5 separate regions of the Homo sapiens genome follow, and regions 2, 3, 4 and 5 are each linked to region 1. The links are contacts of gene promoters, found by promoter capture Hi-C in blood cells and fetal thymus (Javierre and others, 2016). All regions are on one chromosome and are shown on one strand. The core of a region is centred on a gene start or on the middle of the fragment in contact, and the rest is flanking DNA. Distances in the headings are between cores, read along the strand shown. Region 1 holds the start of CTDP1 (CTD phosphatase subunit 1). Region 2 has its middle 2.3 kb from the start of TXNL4A. Region 3 has its middle 9.1 kb from the start of NFATC1. Region 4 holds the start of HSBP1L1 (heat shock factor binding protein 1 like 1). Region 5 overlaps SLC66A2 (solute carrier family 66 member 2).

Region 1 (2,831 bases), core at 219-2,718:
ACAATGGACACTATACCCACACTCAATAGCTGAACAACATATAGTCAGTCACTAATCAATGTTATTTCTGTAAACCAGTGAGAATTCCTCACAAACAAGTTCCTATTAGTCCACTCCCTGGCCCCCTTTTTTGCCTTTAAAATCCACTGTTAACTGCTAATCGGAGTACACATTCAGGGCGCCTTGAATTTGTGCTCAAGTGTGGCCCAAATAAACTCTCTACTTAGAGAAACTGTGTCTCCGCTCGTTTTCAGGCCGACAGTTTCCAAAATGTTAGTATTCAGCCTAACATGAGAAAAGTCACCATATAAAAGTGAGGGGGGAAAAGCAAATACAGGATAATCTCAATTGTATATAAAATTTATATACGTAAGGACAAAGATACATAGTAAAAAAAAAATTCTGGCAGGTATTAAGGCTGAAAAAATTAAAACAGTCCAGAGCGGTCTGGCTCAGGCCAGCCTGGGCCTGCCGAGTAGCTGGGACCTCAGCCACCGCGCCTGGCTAAGTATTAATGAATCTGTTTTAGAGATAGGGTCTTGCTACGTTGCGCAGGCTGGTCTCCAACTCCCAGGCTCAGGTGATCCGCCCGCCACAGCCTCCCGAAGTGCTGAGCCTCCCAAAGTGCTGAGACTACAGGCCTGGCCGCCCGCCCGCCAGCTTAATTCACGTAAATTCCAGACAAACGTAGAAAGTGGCTCCTTTAGTAAGCCACTTGCGGCTGCTGCTCATCAGGGTTCGCCTGGGGCCACTGAGACCACGCGCCGGTGCCCGCCCTCCCGCTGCGGTCCGATTTTCTGAACCAACCAGGCGCTTCCGGGCGCCTTGCCCCAGACGGGCCCACCGCCTGCGCGGGCCGAGGGCGGCGCACCTGCCCCTGCGCTTCCGCATCGAAGGTGAGGTCGGAGGAAGAGAAGACCGCAACCCCCAAGCTCCCGCGGCGTGGGGTCCGGGGGGGGACACGAGGCGGGGCCACCAGGACGCCGACAGCCTCACGTCTCTGGGCCCGCGGCGCGCAAGGCATGCCGGGACCCGTAGTCCCGCGACGTTGCGACTCACAGTGCGCGATGGGAGTGGAGGAGAGCGGCTCGCGGTGCATGCCGGAACTCGTAGTCTCGGGATGCTGGGTCTCAGCGCGTGATGGGGTAATGGCACGCAGGCCTGCGTTGAACGCTGGGACTCGTAGTCCCGCCATGCTCTGTCCGCGGTGCACGCCGGGATACGTAGTTCCGAGCGCGCCAAGACCGTCACTGGGACTGGGCGACAGCGGCCCGCGTTGCATGCCGCTGCTCCACGGTGCCGGCGCTCCGAGGAAAAGTAGGTAGGGCTCAGGAACGCAGTTCTTCACGGCCGGCACGCAGGGTTGGTCCCAGGACGGAGCCGGCTCCGGCCCCGCGCGGCGCTCGTATTTACACGCGCACGTACGCACGTACGCGGCGCCCTTGCGTGACGTCACGCGCCCTCCAGGAAGTCGGCGCGGGCTAGGCGACGGGTGGAAGCCGGTACCGAGAGGAACTACAGCGTCGCCGCCTGGGTTGTGTCGCCGCGGTAGGCGCTGCGCTCTGAGCGCAGCGCAGGCCCCGTACCGACCGCCCGCCCGCCCTCTGTCCGCGATGGAGGTGCCGGCCGCGGGTCGCGTTCCTGCCGAGGGCGCCCCGACGGCGGCTGTGGCCGAGGTGCGCTGCCCGGGGCCCGCGCCGCTGCGCCTGCTGGAGTGGAGGGTGGCGGCGGGCGCGGCCGTGCGCATCGGCTCGGTGCTGGCCGTGTTCGAGGCCGCCGCCTCCGCGCAGTCCTCCGGGGCCTCTCAGTCCCGTGTAGCCTCCGGGGGCTGCGTGCGCCCCGCGCGGCCGGAACGCAGGCTGAGGTCGGAGCGCGCGGGCGTGGTGCGGGAGCTGTGCGCGCAGCCGGGCCAGGTGGTCGCCCCAGGGTGAGTGTGCTGAGCCGGGCGGGGCCGAGGGCGGGCGGCTCCGGGGAGGGATCCTGGAGGACCCCCGGGCTGCTGCGTCCGCGGTGGGCAGGGGCGCCCCTGGTGAGGGAGCGATAAAGCGGGACGCAGGCACTGCGCTTCTCCCCTAAAACTGGATAGTCACCACCTGTGGTTTTACCAACGGGGAGCATTTTGAGATAAAAGGAAAGGGTCCTGCGTAGCGACACGAAGTTACTGTTTGGAAAAGCTATGTTTGTTTCTTTCTTTCTGCAGTGATAGTCCCCGCCCCTTCCTTTAGCTCCACCTTTGTGACTTAGGAAAACTCATGGGTGGCTGTGAGCACAAGAGTCATCAGGCAGGCTCCAGACCTGTTATTGAAATATAAACTGTTGGGTGTGTGCACATCTTTAAATTTTTGTAAACTTTGTGAAACGCAGTTGTAAAACCTGGTGCAGTTCTGTTTCGTGGCTAAGGAACGGGCGGAACCCAGGCCTGCAGCGAAGGCAGTAGCCCCGTGGTTGACCACAGTGGGCATTGTCGCAGGCTGCTTCAGGGTGACGTGGGCGTTGTGACAGACTCCACAGCTCTCAGTAGCTGTGCTCTGACCCCAGAAGGGGATATGTTTCCGTAGCACCGAAGTGTCCAGCCATGTTTGAATCTACCCTTGTGTTCTGGGATGGGCGGGCAAGTGGACACGCGTGTGCGCCTGGCTCTGGTAGTTTTGATTGTGAGAACAGAAACTCCAGGGAGAGGTGGACACTCCAGCCCGCAGTGGGCCGGGCGTGAGCTCCCTCTGGGAAAGGTGCCGCTCCTTCTGGGGATGCCACTCTCTTCCCTCCTCGGCAGCCGCGGCTCCTCGTCCCTTTGGCTTGCCCTGACCCTGTGTTTGTTGAGGATCTTCTCT
Region 2 (2,831 bases), core at 241-2,740, 310 kb after region 1:
TATTCCATAGCTTCAGCATAACTTCCACCTCCAGGACTGATCTGGCCCCCTGGCTTCGCTCACCAGTCAGAGCTCCCCAAACCCTTACTAGTGCCAGTGAACTTTCTCAAAGAGAAATAAGTTAATATTTCTCTTTTTAAAATAAAACCTCTAACCTCTGTTCTTCTGAGAGAGCACTTTGGGTTCATGCTGGAGACTCCCTGGTTTGCAAACTGATATTGATAGTAAAACTCTTGTCTACTATCTAGCTATCCTGGTGGTCCTTTAGATGACAAATTTAAAACAAATCACGCCCGGGCGCGGTGGCTCACGCCTGTAATCCCAGCACTTTGGGAGGCCGAGGCCGGCGGATCGCCTATGGTCGGGAGTTCAAGACCAGTCTGGCCAACATGGTGAAACCCCGTCTCTACTAAAAATACAAAAAATTACCCGGGCATGGTGGCGCCCGCCTATAATCCCAGCTACTAGGGAGGCTGAGGCAGGAGAATCGCTTGAACCCAGGGGGTGGAGGTTGCAGTGAGCTGAGATCGCACCACTTCACTCCAGCCTGGGTGACAGAGTGAGACTCCATCTCAAAAACAACAACAAATCACTATGCAGATGCTGTGGTGTCTCTCAGATGGGCTGTGGCATGGTGAGAACTACAGTCTGAAGAGCCTGCTGGCATGGGGATTGAAATGGGTTCCATGTTTGGTTTCCTCTGGGACACAGCACCATAAGGTGCTTTGATAATATGCACCCACAATTTAAATACTAGAATCACAAGTGCAGCTCACTGCCAGATTAAGCTTTTTACATAATACAGAATATTTCCCAATTATATACGAAATGCTTTATTGTAATGAAACAATTTCAGGTTGGTAGGATATTAGAGATCATCTAAATCTCTTTCATTTTATAATTGAGTAAAGCAGAGGCACAGAATATAAGCATAGTGGTTAACAGTGAGGGTTTTAGTTACATAAAGGCGTGTTCAGGTTCATCTGTGCCTTGCATAAGTTATCTCAACAAACTTCAGTTTCCTCATCCATGAGATGGGATGATAAAACAAAATCTCCTGTACTTCATTGGCACCAGGTACACACTGGAGAAATCTGAGCCCTTACTAAGGTCAGGCTATTGCCTTCTAAAAAATTCCTTACCGTCATTTTGGTAGTCACTCATTTCAGATACAAACACAGTTGCTTAACACATCACAAGCATTTTATTCACAGGAGAGTTGTTCCAAGCTAAGGCATAAGACTCAAATGTCCCCAAATAATTTATTGAAACTCATTTTTTATTGTGTTACTTATAACAAGATTTATCGCCTTAATTTTTAAGGACATTAAGTACATTCATATTATGCAACCATCACCACTATCCATCTCCAGATAAATCTTTTCTTTAATAAAAACTTTTGGCCGGGCGCGGTGGCTCACGCCTGTAATCCCAGCACTTTGGGAGGCCGAGGCGGGCGGATCACGAGGTCAGGAGATCGAGACCATCCTGGCTAACACGGTGAAACCCCGTCTCTACTAAAAATACAAAAAAAAAATTAGCCGGGCGCGGTGGCGGGCGCCTGTAGTCCCAGCTACTCGGGAGGCTGAGGCAGGAGAATGGCGTGAACCCGGGAGGCGGAGCTTGCAGTGAGCCGAGATTGTACCACTGCACTCCAGCCTGGGCGACAGAGCCAGACTCCGTCTCAAAAAAAAAAAAAAAAAAAAACTTTTGTTGAGATCTAATCCATATACTATAAAATTCACCAATTGAAGGTGAGATGGTTTTTCAGTGTTGTGGAACCAATACCACAATCTAATTTTAGGAGAATGTTATCACCCCGAAAAGAAAACCTATACCCATTAACAGTCATTTCCCATTTCCCTCCCATTCCCTCAGCCCCTGGCAATCACTAATCTATTTTCTGCCTCTATAGATTTACCTATTCTAGACATTTCATATAGATGGAAACACAAAATATGGAGTCGTTTGTGACTGCTTTCATTTAACATAATGTTCTCAAGGTCCATATTGTAGCAGACATCAACAGCTAGTTCTTTTTAATTGCTGATGAATATTTCATTAAATAAAACAAAAAATTAGAAACTATTCCATTATATGGATATACTACATTTTATCCATCAGTTGATTGACATTTGGGTTGTTTGCATTTTTTTACTATTATGAGTAATGCTGCTATGAACATTCATGTACAAGCTTTTGTGTGGACTTAAGTTTTCATGTGGTAACTGTTTAACATTTTTAAGTATTGCTAAATTGTTTTCCAAATTGGCTACACCATTTTACATTCTCACCAGGAATGTGTGAGGGTTTCAGTTTTTCCACATTCTTGCCCATGCTTGTTATTTATGTACCTCGTGAACCCCAAAAATCTGAGACAGGTCTCAATTAATTTAGAAAGTTTATTTTTCCAAGGTTGAGGATGCATCCATGACACTGCCTCAGGAGGTCCTGATGATATGTGCCCGAGGTGGTCGGGGCACAGCTTAGTTTTATACATTTTAGGGAGGCATGAGACATCAATCAATATATGTAAGAAGAACATTGGTTCAGTCTGGAAAGGCGGGACAACTTGAAGCAAGGACAGGAAGACTCAAAGCGGGAAGGGGGCTTCCAGGTCACAGATATGTGAGAGATGAACAGTTGCATTCTTGTGAGTTTCTGATCAGCCTTTCCAAAGGAGACAGTCAGCTGTGCATCTGTCTCAGTGAGCAGAGGGATGACTGACTAGAATGGGAGGCAGGTTGAAGGGACCCAAGATACTTTCCTTTCACAGCCTTGTATTATGGTCATACTGGTAGGTATAAAATGATAAGGTGGTTTTCATTTGC
Region 3 (2,831 bases), core at 188-2,687, 290 kb before region 1:
ACACCGCCGGGGCCAGGCCACACCGCCGGGGCCAGGCCACACCGCCACGGCAGGCCACACCGCCGGGGCCTGCCTCATCGCCCCACAGTCTGGAATGCTCTGCACACGCATCAGAAGGAGAGTCGCTGAGCATCACAAAGGAAAATAGAAAGCGCAGCCTCACTGCCCAAGGCCGGGGCAGAGATGACTTGCCTTGTGTTACTGCCTAATTAAACAGATTTGGGTAAACAGATTTGGGTAAACCAAGTAGTTTAAAGAAAAATGTTGGAATATTGCCATTTGAAAAGTATTATTATTTTGCAAGAGGAAAACAATTGTGAGTTCACAGGGACAAACCCAAACTCTTGCCAGAAACTAAAAATGTGATTTATTTACCTCTCGACCAGCGTTAGCAAAAAGAGCAGGCCTGCAGGATCAGGACGCGGCTCTGGGCCCTCCTGCCTCAGCCCTCCGGCACTGTGAGAGGGGCACACACCCGGGGTGGGTGTGCTTGTCCTGCGAAGTGCAGAACAGAGAAGAGGCTCCGAAGCACAGAGCGCCTCTGCCCTGGGCTTTGCACACATTCCTGACTTCTTAAGACACAGCTGTGCAGGACCATTGCATCTCCGTGAAGCTGTCCTCATTGGCCTCAGGCTGACCCGGGCCCCTGGCACTCGAGGGCCAGGGAAGGGGTCATGTCTCCCTGAGACACACATGTGGCATCCTTTCCCCGCCCCCGTGCACACCAGTGGAGTGTCAGCTCAGCCCTGTTTGTGCTTTCTAAGAGAAATCGAGGTTTAAAGGGGACTTTTTTTTGCCTAGCGTGGTGTGTGAGGCCCAGATGGCTGCAGCAGCTGTGCCGGGCTTGCCCGGCCTCCTCACCGGGAGCTTCCCTCTGGCTAGAGTTGCTGTTTCATCTGCCTGTGTCCCTGCGGCCCCACCCCCATGGAGGAAGCGAGGACCCTGTTCAGCCATGGCCTTCCTGTGAATTAGGCCTCCTTCAGGTGCAAGTGACAGAATCCACATTAAACTCGATTGAGCAGAAAAGGGAAGTTGCTTCCTCACCAAGGTGAAGACCCCAGGGGAGGCTCTCAGGTCCCACTAGACTCAGGGGCTCAAGCAGGGCATGGAATCGGCCTCTGGAGTCCCTGTCTCCATGGCAGCCCCGGGGTCCACATCTTCCCCAGGAGGGCACTCTTCAGGCCCCGGCTTCAGAGGAAGAGAACGCCATTCCCTGCGGCTGTGGGGCAGCAGCAGGCACACCTCCCTGGCCTCGGGTGGGCTCTGCCCCTGCGTGGGCTATGGCGGGAGTGGGAACATTCCCGTGACCCCCCTGGAGTTTAGGCCAGGCAGTGGAGGTCCTCGAGCAAAGGTCATCCCACAGGGAGTGCTCTGTCCAGTAGGAGCATGGCGCCCATGTCAGGGCACTGGCCTGGAAGGGAGCGTCTTAGTGGAGGCTGTGGGTGCTGCCAGGCCACCTGAGAGGGGACATGCATTGTAGGAAAGGCCACAGCGCACTGTGACAGGTGTGGTATCCTGGAAGGAATGAAAAACACTGCCCGGCCAGGCGCGGTGGCTCATGCCTATAATCCCAGCACTTTGGGAGGCCGAGGCAGGTGGATCACGAGGTCAGGAGATCGAGACCAGTCTGACCAACATGGTGAAACCCCGTCTCTACTGAAAATACAACAATTAGCCAGGTGCGATGGTGGGCACCTGTAATCTCAGCTACTCGGGAGGCTGAGGCAGGAGAACTGCTTGAACCAGGAAGGCAGAGGTTGCAGTAGCCGAGACTGTGCCATTGCACTCCAACCTGGGCAACAGAGCGAGACTCCGTCTCAAAAAAAAAAAAAAAAGAAAAAAGAAAACCACTGCCCTTTGGGTTGGTTTCCTGGGGCTGCCATCACAAATGACCACAAAGTGGGTGGCTTGAATGGCAGAAACATGTCCTCAGTTCTGGAGGCCAGAAGGCACAGTCGAGGGTCAGCAAGGCCAAGTGCCCTCTGGAACCGGCCACGGAGGTCCCTTCCCTTCCTCTTCCAGCTCGTGGTAGCCCCAGGTGCTCCTTGGCTCGTGGAGCCATCATTCCAGTCTCTGCCTCTGTCGGCTCACCACATTCCCTTTGTCTGTCTTCTCCTCCTGTGAGGGCACCAGTCATCATTGGGGTCCCCTTAACTGACACCATCTTAACTAGTTACAACTGTAGAGATGTCACTTACCAAATTAGGTCTCATTCCCAGAGACCAGGGGACTTCAATGAATCGTTTTGGAGGAGGCAGTTCAATTCACAACAGCATTGTTCTGAAATAATGATTAAGCTGTCTTGAGCCATTAGCAGGTGCCTCTCATTGATCTACCCTGAGAGGTGAAGGCCGTTACTATTGGCTCCCGTAGGTGTACCGGGGACTGGAATCCAAACTCGGGCTGTGGGCAAGCGCCTTCTCACACGAGAGCTGACGTGCTCTGTGAACCCGTCCCCGGGAAACTGGTCAAGTTAAAAACCCCCAGCCATTGACAGTCTCTGGAAATGGTCCTAAGGACACGCAGCAAGTGAAGACACATCTATTGAAAAAGACCTGATTTTTTAAAAAACCATCTTTACTAGGAAAGGTGAATGTATTTGATATTTGAACCAAAGCCACCCCCTCCTCCCCTCCCCCTGCCACTCCACCAGCAGGTCTGCTGCAGCTGAGGACACAGGTGGGTGGGGGAGAGTGACTCTGGGAGGGCGGGATGTCGGTGTTTCTCATCCTGCCCCATCTGCCTGTTGCTGGGGCTGCTAGGTCCTGGGGAGTCTGGTGGAGGGGTGGGGGCTCCCTTCTTCCCGGTCCCCACACTCATGGGTGGGAGGC
Region 4 (2,831 bases), core at 332-2,831, 280 kb after region 1:
AGCGCCTCACTCCTTTGTGTGGCTGAGGAATATTCTATCATCTGCATTTTGTCACCTACTTATTGGGGGTGGACATTTGGGTGGTTTCCACCTTTTGAGCATTACTGATGCTGCAGTAGACTTGGTGCACTCGCGCTGTCGTTTCGGTATATGCCTAGGGGTGGCGCGGCTGGGCCCTGTGGAAACTGCTTCACTTCTGAGGACCCACCCGACTTTTTCACAGCACTGCAGCCTTTCACAGCCCACCGGCTGCGTGGGGGGGGCCACAATCCCCACACGCCTCTCGGACTTACGTTTGTCTCTCTGATTCTAGCCATGCTGGTGGGTTGCAGTGGGAGCTCATTGTGGTTTTGGTTTGTGTTTTCCTGATGACTGGTTGTAATGAGAAAAACCGAGAATCACATTTAAAACCTTACCCTAAAGTGGGAGTTGCTGAGAGACCAAAGAATGACTGGGCGGAGTCCAGCTTGGTGAGTAGGTGAGTTTATTAGGACTCACATGTGGGGCACTCGTGGGCAGCAGGACAACTCTAGAGATGAGCGTGCTTCTGTCCCTAAGCTGCTTTTGAGCTAATTTTCTGCCTCTTTGCGCCGTCTGTGTGATGGGCCTGCTCCCTGTGGTGGTTCTCACATCCCCTCCGGGCTGTTTGGGTTCTCAGGGACACCTGCTCCTCGCTGGGCACCGTGGCCTGGACTCACCGCCTGGCCTTTAGGGTTCAGGCCACAGACATCCGCCCTGAAGTAACCTGGCGGGAACCGCCACGCCACAGCGGTGGTGCTGGGTGGCTGTGTTTTATTTATCCGCACATGGAGACACCAGAGCTTCCAGGTGTGGTCACTGGGCTGTGCCCTAGGGATGCTGGGGTGACCAGACATAGCCCTGTTCCCACAGCGCTGCACAGGGGCACAGACATGGCAACAAGACTGGTAACCCTAAAACACCGTCCTGGGAGGTCACCCACAAGGTGACGAGCCACAACCCAGGTGTGAAAGAGGCCAGGGAAGGCCCGGCGTGGTGGCCCAGGCCTGCGGTCCCAGCACTTTGGGAGGCCGAGGCAGGAGGATCACTTGTGCCCAGGAATTCGAGACCAGCCTGGGCAACATAGTAAGATCCCGTCTCTACAAAAAATAAAAAAGATCAGCCGGACCTGGTGGCGCGCGCCCGTGGTCCCAGCTACTGGCCAGGCCGAGGCAGGAGGATCGCTTGGGCCCGGGAAGTCGAGGCTGCGGGGAGCCATAGTCGCCACTGCACCCCAGCCTGGGCCACAGAGCGAGCCCCCGTCTCTGAGAAACGCAGCAGGGGTGACCGAGGCCCATGCACTGCCCGTGCGGAGCGTTTTGGGGGTGTAGGTGGCCGGTGGCGCCCACGGGCCCTCTTGAGTAAGGCGGCTCCGCCCAGGCCGTCCCGGGGCCTCGGCTCGGCTCGGCTCGGGAAGCCGCAGAGCCTGGGGGCGCGGACCAGTCCTCCGAGGCGGCCGCTCGGTGACATTGCGTCCCTGCAGGTGCAGCGCCCGCCTCTCCGCTCCGGCCCCGCCTCCGCCCTGGAACGCAGCGCGCTCCGCCCGAGGCCTCCCGGCGGCCCATACGGGAATCGCGGAGCTTAGCTGTCGCCACCTCGCGCCGGGTCCGCGCGGCCCACGGGACCCCCCACTGACGCCCCCGGCCAGCGGTCCACATGGACGTGCGGGGCCCTGAAGCCCCCGGCGGGCGCGCGCTGCGGGACGCGGTGAGCCCCTCCCCGACTCCTGCTTCTCTCTGGATGGGGGCGCCCCTGCGGTTCTGGGGGGTTTTGAGGTCCTGGGGGGGGAGCCTGCGGTGCTGGGGGTGCCCTGCGGTCTTCGTGGGGCCCTGAGGTCCTGGGGGGCCTGCGATCCTGAGGACTCCTGTGGTCCTGAGGAGTCCTGAGTGCCTGGGAGGCCTGTGGTCCTGGGGGGGCCCCTGAAGACCTGGGGGACCCTGCGGTCCTGGGGGGGCCTGAGGTGCAGGGGGGAGCCCTGCTGTCCTGGGGGACCCTGCGATCCTCGGGGGGCCTGAGGTCCTGGGGGGAGCCCTGCAGTACTGGGGGGCATTGAGGTCGGGGTCAGTGGGGAAACAACTGGGCCAAAGGGTGCCCGAAAGGGGACCCACGAGTGTCGCAGCGCCCAGGGCTCCGGCCTCTTCCGGGAAATCCTCCCGCTCCCCAGGCCTTCCTACTTGCCAAAGAGTTCCAGGCCCACAAGAGGACTGGCTATGAGGAAGAGACCTGGAATCTGAAGGAATGTGTTGGGCGTTGTGCAAACCCTAACGTAAATTTCCTGACAAAGGTAGAAAGCCCTGGCATGGTTCAGAGGTGGGGCCTCCTCCTATGTCGACGGGATTCTAGATTCACACCATGGTACGTGGGGCTCCCTGGGATCTTGAACCCCCAGCTGGGAGAATTTTGTGCTTCTCAGCCTCACTGTTCTCATCTCACCCTGGACACGGTCGCAGGGTGAGGAGTAGATTACACCGTGAATGGTGTGGGACGTCAGTCTGTAAACTACAAAGCAGTATATAAACAGGAAACGCTTTCAGTAGCAATGGTGGTATTTCTGTGTGACCTGGTAAGTAATTTCATAAGAATTCTTGAGGAGCGCAGGGTCACGAGATTTTCTCCTGCATCCTCCTCTGCATGCTTTATGGCCTTGGCTCTGGGCCAAGGTGTGTGATCTCCTGCATTCATGGTGTGTGGTGTGAGGAGGGGGATGGGTCCCTGCCCCGTCTGCACGTGGCCCTCATGATTCCCGCGCTGCTTGTTGAAAAGACTTTCCTTTCCCTCTGAATCCAAAGGCCTTAGCACCTTTGTCAGAAGTC
Region 5 (2,831 bases), core at 237-2,736, 260 kb after region 1:
TGGCGTGAATGGGGAGAAAGAACAGAACACCGCAGAAAAGACGCTGGAGCTCATCTCTGTGGCCCCAACGACACTAACTGGCCCAGGTCACACTGGCTGGAGGCTGGTCTGGTTTCTACAGAGGCTGAAAGCAGCACACAGTCACCTCAGTCTAGAAACAGAAGCAGACAAAAAGGCAGAGGTGGGAATCCTCTCCAACAGGACGAAGTAGCGGTCAGGAATAGAAACACAGGGACACAGCTCCCCGGCAAGAGCTCAAATCCACAGAAGCCCCAAACTTAACAAACTCTGGGAAGATACTCTTCTCCAAGTGATAGCTGAGATCACTCTCTCTCTCAAAGCCAAAGTGAGTGCTGTCTTAGATTTAGTAATTAGAAGAAAAACAAAAGGAAGGATTTAACCCTCCTGCACACAAGAAGCCCGCCAGCCTGCATGTTCAAACAGAGTTCAGACTGGAACAAACTGTGCAATAGGCAAAAACTGGAAGAAGTATTTTCTATTTTCTAAGCTGCCAAAGGTTAAGGAGCCATGTGTGCTAAGCATGTGATTGGTCCTGCCCAGCTGTCAACACTGCAGTGTGCTCCGCATAAAGGGGCTGCCTGACCCTGCGGGGGGACTCTGGGTCTGTTTAACAAGGTCTGTGAGGAAGACCCTGGCTAAGGTACCCCTGAGTCACAGCAGAACTGAAAGGGTGTGTTTTGTGTACAGGCCACGCACACAGACGAAACGCCTGACCTGGTACCGTCTGACCTGATGGGCCAGGCACAGATGAGCACTTCTTGTTCTGACACAGAAAGCGTCTGGGATGGCGCTCACAGCCAAGAGGAACCGTGAAGATGTGTTGAGGCCTCACCCAACTTCCAGTGAAGAAACTATTATCTTGAATTGCTTCAAGTCATAAACCGTTTAACTGAAGTCATTTAACATACTGAAAACACTATCAGCTGGAGATAACAGCACCACTTGGTGAAATGAAAGCTGCTTGGATCAGGACAGATTAGAGTGGCTTTTGTTTCACCAGAGTCACCTACGCCCTGATTCCCTGCGACTTTATTCCGAAGCGCCGGCCACCAACCTGTAAAGGAGCGGCGCCTGGCGTTGAGCTCGTTGGCCACACGGACCTCGGTGCACAGCTTCAGCATCAGCAGCATGGTCAGGATCATGATGGCGCTCTGCCACAGCAGCGGGGACTCAAAGCGCCTTCCAAACCTGCGGGAGAGACACTGTGTCAGGAGGGAGGTCCACCCATGCCACTTCTCCCAGTCCCGAACCTGCAGCGGGAGAGACCCGGGTCAGGAGGGAGGCCCACCCACGCCGCCCCTCCCAGTCCTGAACCTGCAGCCGGAGAGACCCTGTGTCAGGCCCACCCACATCGCCTCTCCCAGTCCCGAACCTGCAGCGGGAGACACCTGGGTCAGGAGGGAGGCCCACCCATGCCGCCTCTCCTGGTCCCAAACCTGCAGCAGGAAAGATCCTGTGTCAGGAGGGAGGCCCACCCATGCCGCCTCTCCTGGTCCCGAACTTGCAGCAGGAAAGATCCTGTGTCGGGAGGGAGGCCCGCCCATGCCGCCTCTCCCAATCCCGAACCTGCAGCGGGAGAGACCCGGGTCAGAAGGGAGGCCCACCCACGCCGCCTCACCCAGTCCTGAACCTGCAGCAGGAAAGACTGCCCACCCACTCCCCCTCTCCCAGGCCCCAAGCGGCATCCCGGGGAAGGAGCCCAGGAGTTGGCAAACACCACAGTGACCAGGCACCTGTTGCCCATCTCCCAGACTCCAGGTGGGGTAGGGCTCCGGGGAGGGGCCGTAAGACCCCCATACAGCCTGACTCAGAACCCTTCGGCACATTTGGCGCTCCCCAGAACCAGTGGCCCAGGCACTGGTACCCGGGTCTAGTGGCCCTGAGTCCCCTCCCACAGCTCAGCCCAGGTGCCCCAGGCCCTCCCTGCAGCCTCCGGGTTGCCACCAGGCAAAAAGCCCAGTTTCTAGCTCACAGCAGCCCTGCTTCCTGCCTGGGGAAGGCGGGGATAGTGTGCAGAGCAGCAGGTGGGCCAGATGCGAAATTTCCACATGCACACACACTCCCACAGAAGAGAAGACAGCCAAGGCTCTGCACCACCCCCGCCCCCACGCCTCCCTGGCCCCGAGCTCCTCTAGCTGCAGGCTCCCAGGCCTTCTTGCTGACTTTTGACCAGGGTTGAGCATCTCTTCAGCTCAGCTAGGAGCCTCTGCAGGGCAGAACCACAGGCCAATGACTGGCAGTCTCTGCCTCCCTGCGGTCTCTGCCTCCCCAGAGCCACCACAGAGCTGGGACACATGCCTGCAGAGCCACCACCTCCAAGGCTGGGCTGTGTGTGGCACGCACTCATAGAAAGCCCCAACCCCTGACTGTTCCAGCGCGGGAATCTCAATCAGCCTGCAGTTTGGCCTGAAGGGAATTTTCAAAACTTGAACTGGTCACCAACATGTCAAAGTCAGGAGATCCTACATAACAGCCTCATTTCCCAACTTCTGAAAAACTGGAAGACCTAGCAACAACCACCACAGCCCCCACCTCTCTCCAGCTCCCATGCAGCATCCCCTTAACACGAAGCAGAAGAAGGGGGAACCCCGCAGCCCCCTCAGCAACCCCTTATCGACTCAGAGCAGAAGCAGGGGGAACCCCACAGCCCCCTCAGCACCCCCTTATCAACACAGAGCAGAAGCAGGGGGAACCCCACAGCCCCCTCAGCACCCCCTTATCAACAGAACAGGAACAGGGGGAACCCCATAGCCCCCTCAGCACTGCCTTATCAACTCAGAGCAGGAACAAGGGGAACCCTATAGCCCCCT

Evidence for each region. The method cuts DNA at HindIII sites, captures the fragments that hold promoters and counts their contacts. A CHiCAGO score of 5 or more calls a contact.
Region 2: a contact is called between a fragment that was not itself captured here and the fragment with the promoter of CTDP1 in region 1, in 1 of 17 cell types (monocytes). The highest score is 6.7, in monocytes.
Region 3: a fragment that was not itself captured here is called in contact with the fragment with the promoter of CTDP1 in region 1 in 1 of 17 cell types (naive CD8 T cells); the score reaches 5.0 in naive CD8 T cells.
Region 4: a contact is called between the fragment with the promoter of HSBP1L1 here and the fragment with the promoter of CTDP1 in region 1, in 1 of 17 cell types (neutrophils). The highest score is 5.2, in neutrophils.
Region 5: a fragment that was not itself captured here is called in contact with the fragment with the promoter of CTDP1 in region 1 in 1 of 17 cell types (monocytes); the score reaches 5.5 in monocytes.

What each region holds. Positions count from the first base shown.
Region 1 is chr18:79,678,335-79,681,165 of GRCh38, forward strand. It overlaps CTDP1 (CTD phosphatase subunit 1), which reads left to right and starts at 1,469. Exons shown (of 13, transcript NM_004715.5): 1 at 1,469-1,927. The coding sequence starts at 1,614. CTDP1-DT (CTDP1 divergent transcript) reads right to left here and starts at 1,411. Exons shown (of 5, transcript NR_136643.1): 1 at 1,060-1,411. RefSeq lists enhancers at 594-1,101, 1,102-1,610. The HindIII fragment of the contact is 26,865 bases long and covers 1-2,831 here.
Region 2 is chr18:79,989,422-79,992,252 of GRCh38, forward strand. It overlaps a transcript of TXNL4A not described here. Among named protein-coding and RNA genes, the nearest start is that of TXNL4A, 2.3 kb to the left of the region's middle. The HindIII fragment of the contact is 1,408 bases long and covers 787-2,194 here.
Region 3 is chr18:79,385,389-79,388,219 of GRCh38, forward strand. No RefSeq gene overlaps it. Among named protein-coding and RNA genes, the nearest start is that of NFATC1, 9.1 kb to the right of the region's middle. The HindIII fragment of the contact is 3,390 bases long and covers 1-2,831 here.
Region 4 is chr18:79,963,062-79,965,892 of GRCh38, forward strand. It overlaps HSBP1L1 (heat shock factor binding protein 1 like 1), which reads left to right and starts at 1,582. Exons shown (of 4, transcript NM_001136180.2): 1 at 1,582-1,725. The coding sequence starts at 1,675. RefSeq lists an enhancer at 64-143 and a silencer at 1,239-1,808. The HindIII fragment of the contact is 8,145 bases long and covers 1-2,831 here.
Region 5 is chr18:79,942,254-79,945,084 of GRCh38, forward strand. It overlaps SLC66A2 (solute carrier family 66 member 2), which reads right to left. Exons shown (of 6, transcript NM_025078.5): 3 at 1,076-1,209. Among named protein-coding and RNA genes, the nearest start is that of SLC66A2, 8.0 kb to the right of the region's middle. RefSeq lists a silencer at 2,012-2,071. The HindIII fragment of the contact is 6,504 bases long and covers 1-2,831 here.